Linked DNA regions of Homo sapiens: all the other regions are linked to region 1. The links are contacts of gene promoters, found by promoter capture Hi-C in human tissues and cell types (Jung and others, 2019). All regions are on one chromosome and are shown on one strand. The core of a region is centred on a gene start or on the middle of the fragment in contact, and the rest is flanking DNA. Distances in the headings are between cores, read along the strand shown. Region 1 holds the start of DOCK5 (dedicator of cytokinesis 5). Region 2 overlaps EBF2 (EBF transcription factor 2). Region 3 overlaps EBF2 (EBF transcription factor 2).

Region 1 (3,524 bases), core at 7-2,506:
AACTCGTGACCTCAGGTGATCCACCCGCCTCGGCCTCCCAAAGTGCTGAGATTACAGGCATGAGCCACCACGCCTGGCCAACTACCTGTCTTTACTATCTTTACTACATGTTTGTCTTCCTTTCTTTTATATTCCTAAAACGCATGAAAACCTTCACAGGCTGCAAGGAGGATATAATTTCTCTCTAGAGGAATCTTCTTCGAAGGTGAACGTAATTAAGCTGGTCATTTACTCTACTTGCAATGTTACTTCTCGGTACAAGGTAGGGAGAAACCCCTGGATCTTCATTCTCCAAGTCTCTCCAGGAAGAAATGAATTCCAAGAGGGGAGCTCCAGAGAGGGCGCCACCTGGAGCCCAAGGCGGTTCAAATGCGCAGCCCCTTTGGGATCTTCGTCAAGAAAAGGCAGTCGTTGACGGAGAAAAGACGGGGATGCGCCTTGGCCCTTTCTCCACGGGAATGCTCTCTGGGCTGCTGGCTGGTTGGGAAAGGGAGGTCTGGGCATGAGGGTCTAAGTTTCTTCAGCTTAAGGTTGGGGGGTCCCCGGAGTTTGGGGATACAGGACTTCCAAATTAGGGCTTTCTAAACAATTTCCCTGCAGAGGATCCCCTAGCAAACGGTCTGATACTTCTGAGGAGCCCACCTCCCTTGCACCAGCTCTCCGGTGATAAAAGTTCTGCTTTCCAGGCTCTAAGCGGTGGCCCCGGGAGATTCAGTCTGCCCTGAGTCCGGCTTCTCCCGCTCGCGGCGCGGGTTCAAGCTCCAGGGGGTGAAGGCAGAAGTCAACTGCTCATTCATTCAACAAATATTTATTGCGCGCCCGCTTAGTGCCAGGCACCGGAGGTGCCCCGAGCAAGAAGCCGCTCTCGCTGATCCGTTTCCGCTCCCCAAGTGTCCGGCGCGCGCCGTGGGAGCGCAGCCCGCATCCCTCGCCCACCGGCCGCCCGGCCTGGGCGTGCCCGGCTCCTCCAGCGCAGCCCTCTGTCGGGAGCCGGACCCCCGGGACCCAGCCTCCGGGGTATCAGCCGGGTGGGGAGGGCGGGAGAAAGGCAAAGTGCCGCCAGCGTCAAAGTCCCGCCGGCCCAGGAAGCCGCTCCAGGGAAGCGCGCGAGGCGGAGCCGCAGTCGGCCCCCGCCCGGCAGAGCGCAGAGAGCGGCGCGGGCGGGAGAGGCCGGGCGCCCGCGGCTCGGAGGCGGCCCCGGCGGGCGGAGGGTGCGGCCGGCGGGAGGGACTGGGGCGGCGCCAGGAGGGGCGCGCACTGCTGCGCTGCAGCCCGGCCCAGCAGGTGACCGCGGGCGGCGCGGGCACGGGCACGGGCGCGGGCGGCGCGGCGAGGAGGCGGCCCGCGGAGTCCAGCGAAGTTTGGCGGAACATGGCGGAAGCGTCTGGGGCACGCAGGAGCGCGGGGCGGCGGCGGCCGGAGCCCGAGGAGCTGTAGCAGCCTTAGTCGCCGCCGCCGCGGGGCGAGGTCGCCGCCATGGCCCGCTGGATCCCGACCAAGAGGCAGAAGTACGGGGTTGGTGAGTGCGCGCCCCACCTTGTCCCGGCCCGACCCACGCGGCCAAGTTCGCGGACAGCGGCCCTGCCAGGTTTGCGCAGAGCCCGGCGGAGGACCCTGGCCGGGGGCTCGGCCCGGCTGCGCAGCTCTGGGAGCCGGGGACGGTAGGAGTCCTCTCCAGGGAGCGCCGATGGGGAAGTCGCCCAGGGTTTGGGGACTCCGAGTGCTTCCAAGTGCAGCTGAGCTTCGGGACCGTAATCCCGCTCTTGCATCCCAATCTCCGGCACTTCACACCAGGGAAATGTCAACGCGAGGGGGGCGCGCCTGCTGCTCTTTTGGGGCCGCAGCTCTGTGGCTCGCCCCGGTGCGCCCAGCGTGGGTTTCACCTGGGAGTAGGTGACCAGCCCGGGTCGGCACATGGACTGGTGCTCATTGTCCCAGTGCTTTCTGCCCCCCGCTTTCGTAGGTTCTTCTCAGACGCCCCTTAAGTGAGGAGTTGAGGGTGGAAAGCCGCCCTGCCCCCTTTCCTCCAGAGACTGGGATCTTGATGACAGTTGTGAGCTGGATGGAAACTAGAGTCGTGGCGTGGAAGTGATGGAAGGGACAGGAAGTTGTGGCACGGGAAGGGGGTGGCTGGCCCCTGGGGCTGTTTGTGCGCACTCATCCCCTAACGGAGCCTGTCTGGAGAGGGTGTAAGGCTGCCTTCCGGATCCTGAGTTTCATCCTGGAGACGAGAAGAGGACATTTTATTAAGGAAACTGTGCCAGACCCCGTGCTGGGCACTTGGCATTCAGAACAGCGGTGCTGGAGAGCCCCGGGTTGTGCGCAGGGGTTGCTGGTGGTGGTGCTTTGGCTCCGAAACAATAGATGTGCGGGGATTTTGACCCAGGTGGAAAGTCAGGCTCCTTTGGCTTTTTATCAAGGATTGAAGTTATTGAGGGCCTGTGGGAAGACTTCTGCCCTGAACGGGGTGATTACAATGGCAGTTAGACCTGGGGTGATTCCCTACAATAAACACGGCTGAGTGTGTTGCGAATTTTATCACTTCCTCTCAGATCCATTCATTTGGCCTGTTTGTAATTTAGTCTTTGACTTTACTCCCTTACTGAGGTCCTGTTTTTCCTCACCTCACTGGTTAATGAAGTGCAGTCTCAATTAAGAGCTACTCAACGTGTCTAGGGGCTTTTCAACTCTGTAGCCAGGAGTCAGGGTTTTTTGTTGTTGTTTGTTTTGTTTTTTAACAGTCTCATATTTACTATATTATTCTTAGGTTGTGATCCTTTATATATTTATTATTTTTTGTTTTCCCTCAATTCAAAAGACATTTTCTTTTTTGCTCTTAAGTTGCTTTTAGAATCTTAGTCTCTCCCTTAGCTGCATCTCAGAAATGGGTAGAGATGTTGCTTCTGCCTCAGGGCTCTTTTTTTTTTTTTTTTTGGTTTGTTTGTTTTTGAGACGGACTGACGAGGGAGTCTCACTCTGTCGCCCAGGCCGGAGTGCAGTGGCGCAATCTCGGCTCACTGCAAGCTCCACCTCTAGGTTCCAGCAATTCTCCTGTCTCAGCCCCCCTCCCCGAGTAGCTGGGATTACGGGCTTGCATCACTACACCTGACTAATTTTTGTATTTTTAGTAGAAACCAGGTTTCGCCATCTGGGCCAGGCTGGTCTCAAACTCCTGACCTCAGGTGATCCGCCTGCCTCGGCCTCCCAAAGTGTTGGGATTACAGTCATGAGCCACCTCACCTGGCCCCTAGATGAAAGCATATTTACAATGCCCAATCACTACAGAAATGTTATCAACTCTAATTTTATCAGGATTAAAAGCTCTTTTCAAAACTATTCAGTTGAGGGTAATTAATGCAAACATGTTTCAAAAATGTGGTTTTTATTGCCATAGTCCTAGGAGCAAGTATAATTGTTTTTAATATTTTGTTTTTATGTTCTGGAGTCAGTTTACTGTGTCACTTATCAGTCAAGAAAAATATTTGGGCCAGGTGCGATGGCTCACGTCTGTAATCCCAACAATT
Region 2 (3,562 bases), core at 355-2,854, 720 kb after region 1:
ATCGCGCCACTGCACTCCAGCCTGGGCGACAGAGCGAGACTCCGTCTCAAAAACAAACAAACAAACAAACAAAAACAGAAAAAAAAAGACAGGGGCTGTGGCAGCTTTTGAGGAGAGAGGTGGATTTAATAGATACTTAGGAGGAGGCAGCGACACTTTGACAATGAAAGAGGAGGGAATGAATCAGGGAACAAGCAGTGAGTTCTGTTTTGAACACGTGCTCATTAGTCATCCAGGGAAGATGCCCAGAAGGAAGCTAGCATTATATGCCTGCAGCTCTAAAGAAGTCTGAGAATATGGATACAGAAATCATCCAGGAACAGAGAGCATTTGAAGCCAAGAGAGTGGATGAGAGATCACCAGGAAAAGTCCTAAGTGGACAGATCCCCACTGTTAAAGGTTACCTTACATGAAGGATGCCTATTGGGCTTTAAATGAATTCCATTTCTTTAGACTAGAGGTCCATGGAAGCTTGAGATATTTCAAGTGGTCTGGAGACCCCTGAAATTTTAATTAAAACTTTAAACGTAGTATTTCAATGGGATACAGACTATAGCTTTTACCAGATTCTTAAAGGGGTCTGGGCCAAAAAAAAAAAAAAAAGGTTAAAAAGGGTTAAAAGGGTTAAAACCCTTTGTGTTTCAGTATTTTTTATGTCCTATAATACTTAGGACTTGAATGAAATTAAAGAGAGGATTGGTTCAAGCTTGAAAATAACCTTGATGTAACAATTTTGGTCTGATTGGATGATTTTTGTAAAAAGAATCCAGGTTCCACCAGTGTTTGGGGGTAAGGGAAGGAGGGGGGAGAGTTTTATAGAGTTCAGGATTTGGGTAGAAATTTTTCATATTTCTATTCCATTCAGATCAAATCCTCACGAAAGAATCCTTCATATTAAATTTATGTTTGATCATATCACAAAAGTAGAGAATTGAAGGAATTGTGTATATGGCTCTAAATGATTGTCTTTGTCCTTCTGAGTGAGATACATACTCTAGGAATTTCTGAAAGTCACCATCCATTCAGATGACTGTCCTACCACCATGAGTATGCACTCTCTCTGGTTTTGTTTCATATTTGGAACCTGAACTAAGTTTCTTACTTGACTATGATAGCATATTGCTAAGCCTGTCTTCATAATAACCTTCTCTATGAGAGAGCTTTCATTGAAGGTTATATTCTTAGTAGAATCTAAGTACAGTATAAAAATTGCCAATTCTTTTGTGCACCAAAGGACACTATCAAGAAAGTGAATGACAACTCATGGAATAGGAGAAAATATTTTCAAATCACATGTTTGAGAAGGAGCCAGTATCCTGAATATATAAAGAACTCTTACAGCTCAACAATAAAATGACAAATAATGCAACTAAAAAATGGGCAAAGGATTTAAATAGACACTTCCTCAAAGAAGATATACAAATGAGCAATAAGCACATGAAAAGATGCTCAAAATCACTAATCATTAAGGAAATGCAAATCAAAACCACAATGAGATACCTCTTCACACCCATAGGATGACTAGAATTTTTTTAAAACAGAAAATCCCAAGTGTTGGCGAGGAATTGACACCTTCACAGATTACCAGTGGAAATGTAAAATGGTGCAACCACTATGGAAAACAGTTTGGCAGTTCCTCAAAAACTTAAAGAAACAATTACCATATGACCCAGAAATTCTGTTCTTAGTTGTATACCCAAGAGAATTAAAAACATATGTCACACAGTGAAACTGTGCACAAATACTAACAGTGTCATTGTTTGTAATAGCCAAAAAGTGAGACAATCCAAACGTCCACTAACTGACTAATGAATTTTAAAATGTGATATATCCATACAATGGAATAGTCAAGCTGTAAAAAGGAATGAAGTATTGATACATGCTATCACATAGAGGAACTTTAAAAACATTATGCTAACAGACAAAAACAGACACAAAAGCCACATATTGTATGATTCTATTTATGTTAAATTCCCAGAATAGACAAACCTATAGAGACAGAAAGTAGATTAGTGGTTGCCAGTGAATGGGGAGAAACAGGAACTGGGAGACATGAGATTTCTTCTTGGGATAATAGAAAAGTTCTGGAATTAGATAGTGGTGCTGGTTGTACAACACTTTGAATGTACTAAAAACCACTGGACCCTGCACTTTTAAATGGTTAAAATGGTGAATTGTATGTTATATGAATTTTATCTCAGTAAAAAATGCAAACAAATTGCCAGTTGACTTTAGCTCTACCCTTGAAATAAGACAATCAGAGAATCCACAAAGTCTAAACAATTCTTTTTGCCCTTGTCTTTGCAAAAGTCAAATACTTTCACATAGGATGAGAATTCTATATCATTTTGAGATCAACAATATTTATTCTATGCCAATGAAAAACTCAGGCACCATGAAAACCCCATTTAAGTAAATAACTAAAGAAGTAGAGGAAATATTAGCATGCATTTGCTTTGTGAATATATTCCTAAACTTTGGGAGAAAGAAAATGACAAGGCATTCTCCTACAATGGAAGCCTCTTCACATTTACAAGAGTATCCTCAAATTCTCAAATTTAAAACTCTTTGAAAGTGCTGGTAGAAAGTAGGATGGAATAAAAATCCAAACTGCCAACTCTCTTTTCTCTGCCTCTGTATCTTCTAGAAATAAAGCTAAGCTTTGGTCATGGAGGCACTTTGGAATTCTTTTGAATTTTACTCTTCTTTGGACTGAAATTATTTACATTTTTATTTGGAATATTGAGCACAGTGAATTTCCACCATGCACGAAGTTCCTGTTTGATCCCCCAAGAAGGCTGGTTTTATTTCTGTTTTTCTTCATACAAGAAAGTAGGCCCAGAAGCGGTGGCTCACACCTGTAATCCCAGCAATTTAGAAGGCTGAGTCGGGTGGATCACTTGAGGTCTGGAGTTTCAGACCAGCCTGGCCAACATGTCAAAACCTCATCTCTACTAAAAATACAAAAATTAGCCAGGCGTGGTGGCATGTGCCTGTAGTCCCAGCTACTCAGGAGGGTGAGGCAGGAGAATTGCTTGAACCCAGGAGGAGGAGGTTGCAGTGAGCCAAGATCATACCATTGCACTCCAGCCTGGGTGACAGAGCGAGACTCCATCTCAAAACAAACAAACAAACAAACAAACAAACAAAAAAAGGCAGGGAAACAGCCTGCCCAAGAGAGAAAAAGTCTCCAACTTTTTAAAGGGAGGCTGGTAATAGTGTTAAGTATTGTAATGAAAAATGTTCCTGTCACAGCAAGATTGATAGCCATGATGGGGTTAAAAAATACTACTACTAGTTTTTTTTTCAAAGTAACTCTCAGTAGCCCTTGTGTATGGCCATCTTCCTGTTAACTCTTGAATGGCTCTGCTCCTAAACATCTGTCTGATTGTGGCCTAACCACAGAAGCTCTCCAGCAGGACCAGCTACATAATTTGTAGGGTTCAATAAAAAATGAATGTCACATTCCTTGTTCAAAAATTATTCAGGGTCCGATGTGGTAGCTCACACCTGTAACCCCAGCACTTTGAGAGGCCTAGGTGGGTGAATCACCTGAGGTCAG
Region 3 (3,511 bases), core at 668-3,167, 740 kb after region 1:
AATAGCTCAGAAAGGTGAAGACTCTTGCCTCTGTGAGCTGGACATCGGTTTTATACTTCGACAATGTGGATGTATCTTTGTCTGTATGCATCACCTTCTCTGACTCACAGTGTGCAGTACTGAGGGTGTCCATTTAGTCCAGAAAGTCTGCATATTGATCCCATCTCTATGACACTCATTGATTCCTCCATATGTTCCACTTTGTCAAAGTCCAGGCATAAAAACTCCCAGAAGCATGAGTCCTCTCCACATTCCCAGGCTCTTTCCTAAGAGATTTTACTACCATTCAACACAGACAGGAGTTGATTTCTCAGCAAGACTTTGAAAGTACATTCGAGAGTTCTATTCATCACCTTTGAGGCAACGTAAATTCACCAAACTGCCCTGAAGATCTGAGCAAAGGATCTCCAACAGATCAGATTATCCCCCTGGAATGAAGGAGGAGGTCCACATGATCTTTTCCGGGCCAGCAAGAGGATTCAGAAGTCCAAGGATTCCGTAGATGAAAGAGAGTTTCAGGATTGTGATGGTTAGTTCTTGTCAACATGGCTGGGTTCTAGCACCCAGTTACTTAATCCAACACTAATCTAGGTGTTACACTGAAGGTACATCTACAAACTGGTTGACTCTAAGTAGAGGGATTACCCTTGATAATGTGGATGGGTCTCATCCAATCAGTTGAAGGCCTCAATGGCAAAAACTGAAGTTTCCTGGAGAAAAAAAAAATTCTGCCTCAAAACTGGAGCATTGACTTCTGCCAGGGTTTCCAGCCTGCTGGCCTGTCTTATGAATTTCAGACTTGCCATCTCCCACCCCACCCCACCCTACAATAAGCCAATTCCTTATCTTGTATATATCTAGATATCATGTATTTATATATCTAGATATCATATATATTTATATATAATACTATCGTGTATGTTATATATATTATATACACATCATGTATATTATATATCATATATAATATACATGATATATATACATTTCCTATTGGTCCTTTTCTCTGGAGAACCCTGGCTGATTCAAGGACCAACAGGAAATTTCCACTCTAGAGAGAACTTCTATCACTATAGAAACTTGAAAACACAAAAGAACGTAAAACCACCAAATAATGTGGTCCTTTCTGCTAGGGTGGGCAACTCCTGCTGGAGTTCCTGGTGCACATTAAACCTCACAGGAGCTTCCCTCTGAGTGTTAGAAGAGGGGACAGGGGAGAGGATGGCAGAGGAGTCCTGTGATTGGCTTGGCTATGGCCTTAGAACACTCTTATTTGTATATATCATGCTAAAATGTACTCAGTTGGAACTTAAGTCCTAAACAGTGTGGGGTTTATATAATATTGTTATTATAGTGCAGAAATAATTAAAGTGTGTCAAGTTTTGCATTTTTTAAAAATCTTCTCTGAGAAATCCCCGACTTTTCTACAAGGATTTCATAACTCTAATAAGAAAGCCCTGTCATGAATAAAACCTGGCCCACATTGCCTCAGGAAAAGCCCAGAATGTATTTACTCCACTTGATTAAAATAGAAATATATATATTATAAAAAAGTCCATCAGATAAGGAACACGGCTTGTCTCCTCTCCTATCCTCCACACAAAGGTAGCCAAAACTTTGCGAATCTGTCAGAAATGGGTTTCCCCTAATTAAAAGGGAAAAGGAATAAATTAGAATCTGGTAAGAGTAAAAGGTTTTTTTTAGGTTGAATTCATACTGAAAAAAATTAGAAGTACAGCTAGTGTGGATTCCTGAGACATGTACCCACTCTCTTTAGACTGTTGCCATCTAAGGTGCACACGCTGGATTTCCACATGCTGCAGGAATTGAAGAACCTCTTAGAAACCTGGTCTTCATAAACTTAAGGCTTATCTGGGTTAGCTGCAAGAGACAGCAAGAGAACCCATGCAGATCTTTCATATGCTCCCATCTGACTCATTCCCTGTCCTCTTCTCCCCACGACCATTCCTGCCCCAACTTGGCCCAGAAACCAAATGTGAATTTTCTATTTCCCACCTCAGCACTAGTCCATGCCAGGACACCAGCTGACAATTTCTTGGTTTTATTGTCAATAGCTGTACCATGTGATCAATTACTGTCTTCACTTAGAACGAAGCCAGAGCCCAAGAATATTTATATTCTACCAATACGTGCCTGTTACAAGAGAAGGAAATATGAGTTATTAAGTTTAACTTTTTATGTGAATTCAGAGTTTAACAATGGAAATATGTACAAAGAAGCTTTAAATGAAGTATTTACCAACATTCCTTATACATGTCAGGCACTAGGCTACATGGGATAATGATTAATAATAAAATGATTTTTAAATGAAAAAAAAAAAAAAAAAAACCAGGGAAATGGAGAGGAGAAAGGAACTAGAGGACACCTCTTTCCACCAGGAAGTGGACCAGGCTTGGCCAAACTACAAACAGACCAGCAAGGAGTTCCTACTTGCTACACAGGAGGGCTCTAACATGCAGAATGCTTTCGAGGATTAAACAAAATCTCATGTATTAAGTGCTGACGCAGTGAGATGCCTCTATCTCCACACTCAATAACCAGGAGTTGTATTATATTATTATAATCAGTTCAAAAAGAACTATGCAGACAGATTTCAATGGAAAGTAATATTACAACTAATAAGAGTGAAGAATACAATTAATGCTTCCTCAGTGTTGAGCAGTGATCTGCTCATGTTGATTCATTTAAATACTCACGACAGTCCTGTGAGATATTATCGCATCAATATCCCTGTCTTACACAGACAAGGAAACTGAGGTTAAGGAACTTTCACAAGGTCACACAGCTACCAGATGGTGGAGACGGGATGTGAACAGGGCATCCTGGCTCCACAGTTTGCTTGTTTAAAACACACTGTCCTAATCCAACTCCTGTTAGAGAGAGAAGTAATCAGTGCAAATTTTTTCCTTCTGAAAACATTTTGTCAGGGTCTATGGTGACTTAGAGCACTTAGTACGATGCTTATTGAGAGCAGACACTCGACGAGGCTTTTTATTGTGGGCTTACTCTGTTTTTAAGGCAAGGAGCTTCTCTATTTCAAGATTTTTTCACTATGTGCCTTCATTTCTTCCTATCGGGTACTTTTTTTTTCCACTTTTGAAATCTTCCTTAATAAACATGTGTGCTTAAAAAAAATCTTCTAAGTTCTATTCCTCTTTCAGAGCACACACAAATGCTATCTCCCTTGTAAGTCAGGATCCTTTGGTCCACAATGACTCCCTCCTTGGGACGTCTAAACACACATGAGTAAGGTCATGTTGATCCTGGTTGAGTCTTCACAGTCTTGTTCTTCACACACCTACTTCCCCATCACTGAGCTCGCCGGCCTGGCACAGATCCGGGTATCAGTGGGAAAATGGTGGAAATGGGGTAGAAAGGGCTAAGGTTTACACACAAGAGAGGGGGAAAAACAGAAGGGAAAAAGTAAGGGGGAGACCTGGGGAAGGACAATGGAGAATGAGGGTTATAGACTTTAGGGTGGCTGATGCGG

The links. Contacts are between HindIII fragments. The study calls those that stand out against the background at their distance.
Region 2: a contact is called between a fragment that was not itself captured here and the fragment with the promoter of DOCK5 in region 1, in 1 of the 25 tissues and cell types used here (lymphoblastoid cells).
Region 3: a contact is called between a fragment that was not itself captured here and the fragment with the promoter of DOCK5 in region 1, in 1 of the 25 tissues and cell types used here (lymphoblastoid cells).

What each region holds. Positions count from the first base shown.
Region 1 is chr8:25,183,433-25,186,956 of GRCh38, forward strand. It overlaps DOCK5 (dedicator of cytokinesis 5), which reads left to right and starts at 1,257. Exons shown (of 52, transcript NM_024940.8): 1 at 1,257-1,519. The coding sequence starts at 1,477. LOC124901912 (a long non-coding RNA gene) reads right to left here and starts at 945. Exons shown (of 2, transcript XR_007060861.1): 1 at 1-945. RefSeq lists silencers at 1,075-1,154, 1,165-1,334, 1,505-1,554. The HindIII fragment of the contact is 16,568 bases long and covers 1-3,524 here.
Region 2 is chr8:25,903,649-25,907,210 of GRCh38, forward strand. The region is part of intron 7 of EBF2 (EBF transcription factor 2); the gene reads right to left. Among named protein-coding and RNA genes, the nearest start is that of EBF2, 140 kb to the right of the region's middle. The HindIII fragment of the contact is 3,511 bases long and covers 1-3,360 here.
Region 3 is chr8:25,926,453-25,929,963 of GRCh38, forward strand. All of the region lies in intron 6 of EBF2 (EBF transcription factor 2), which reads right to left. Among named protein-coding and RNA genes, the nearest start is that of EBF2, 120 kb to the right of the region's middle. The HindIII fragment of the contact is 5,568 bases long and covers 1-3,511 here.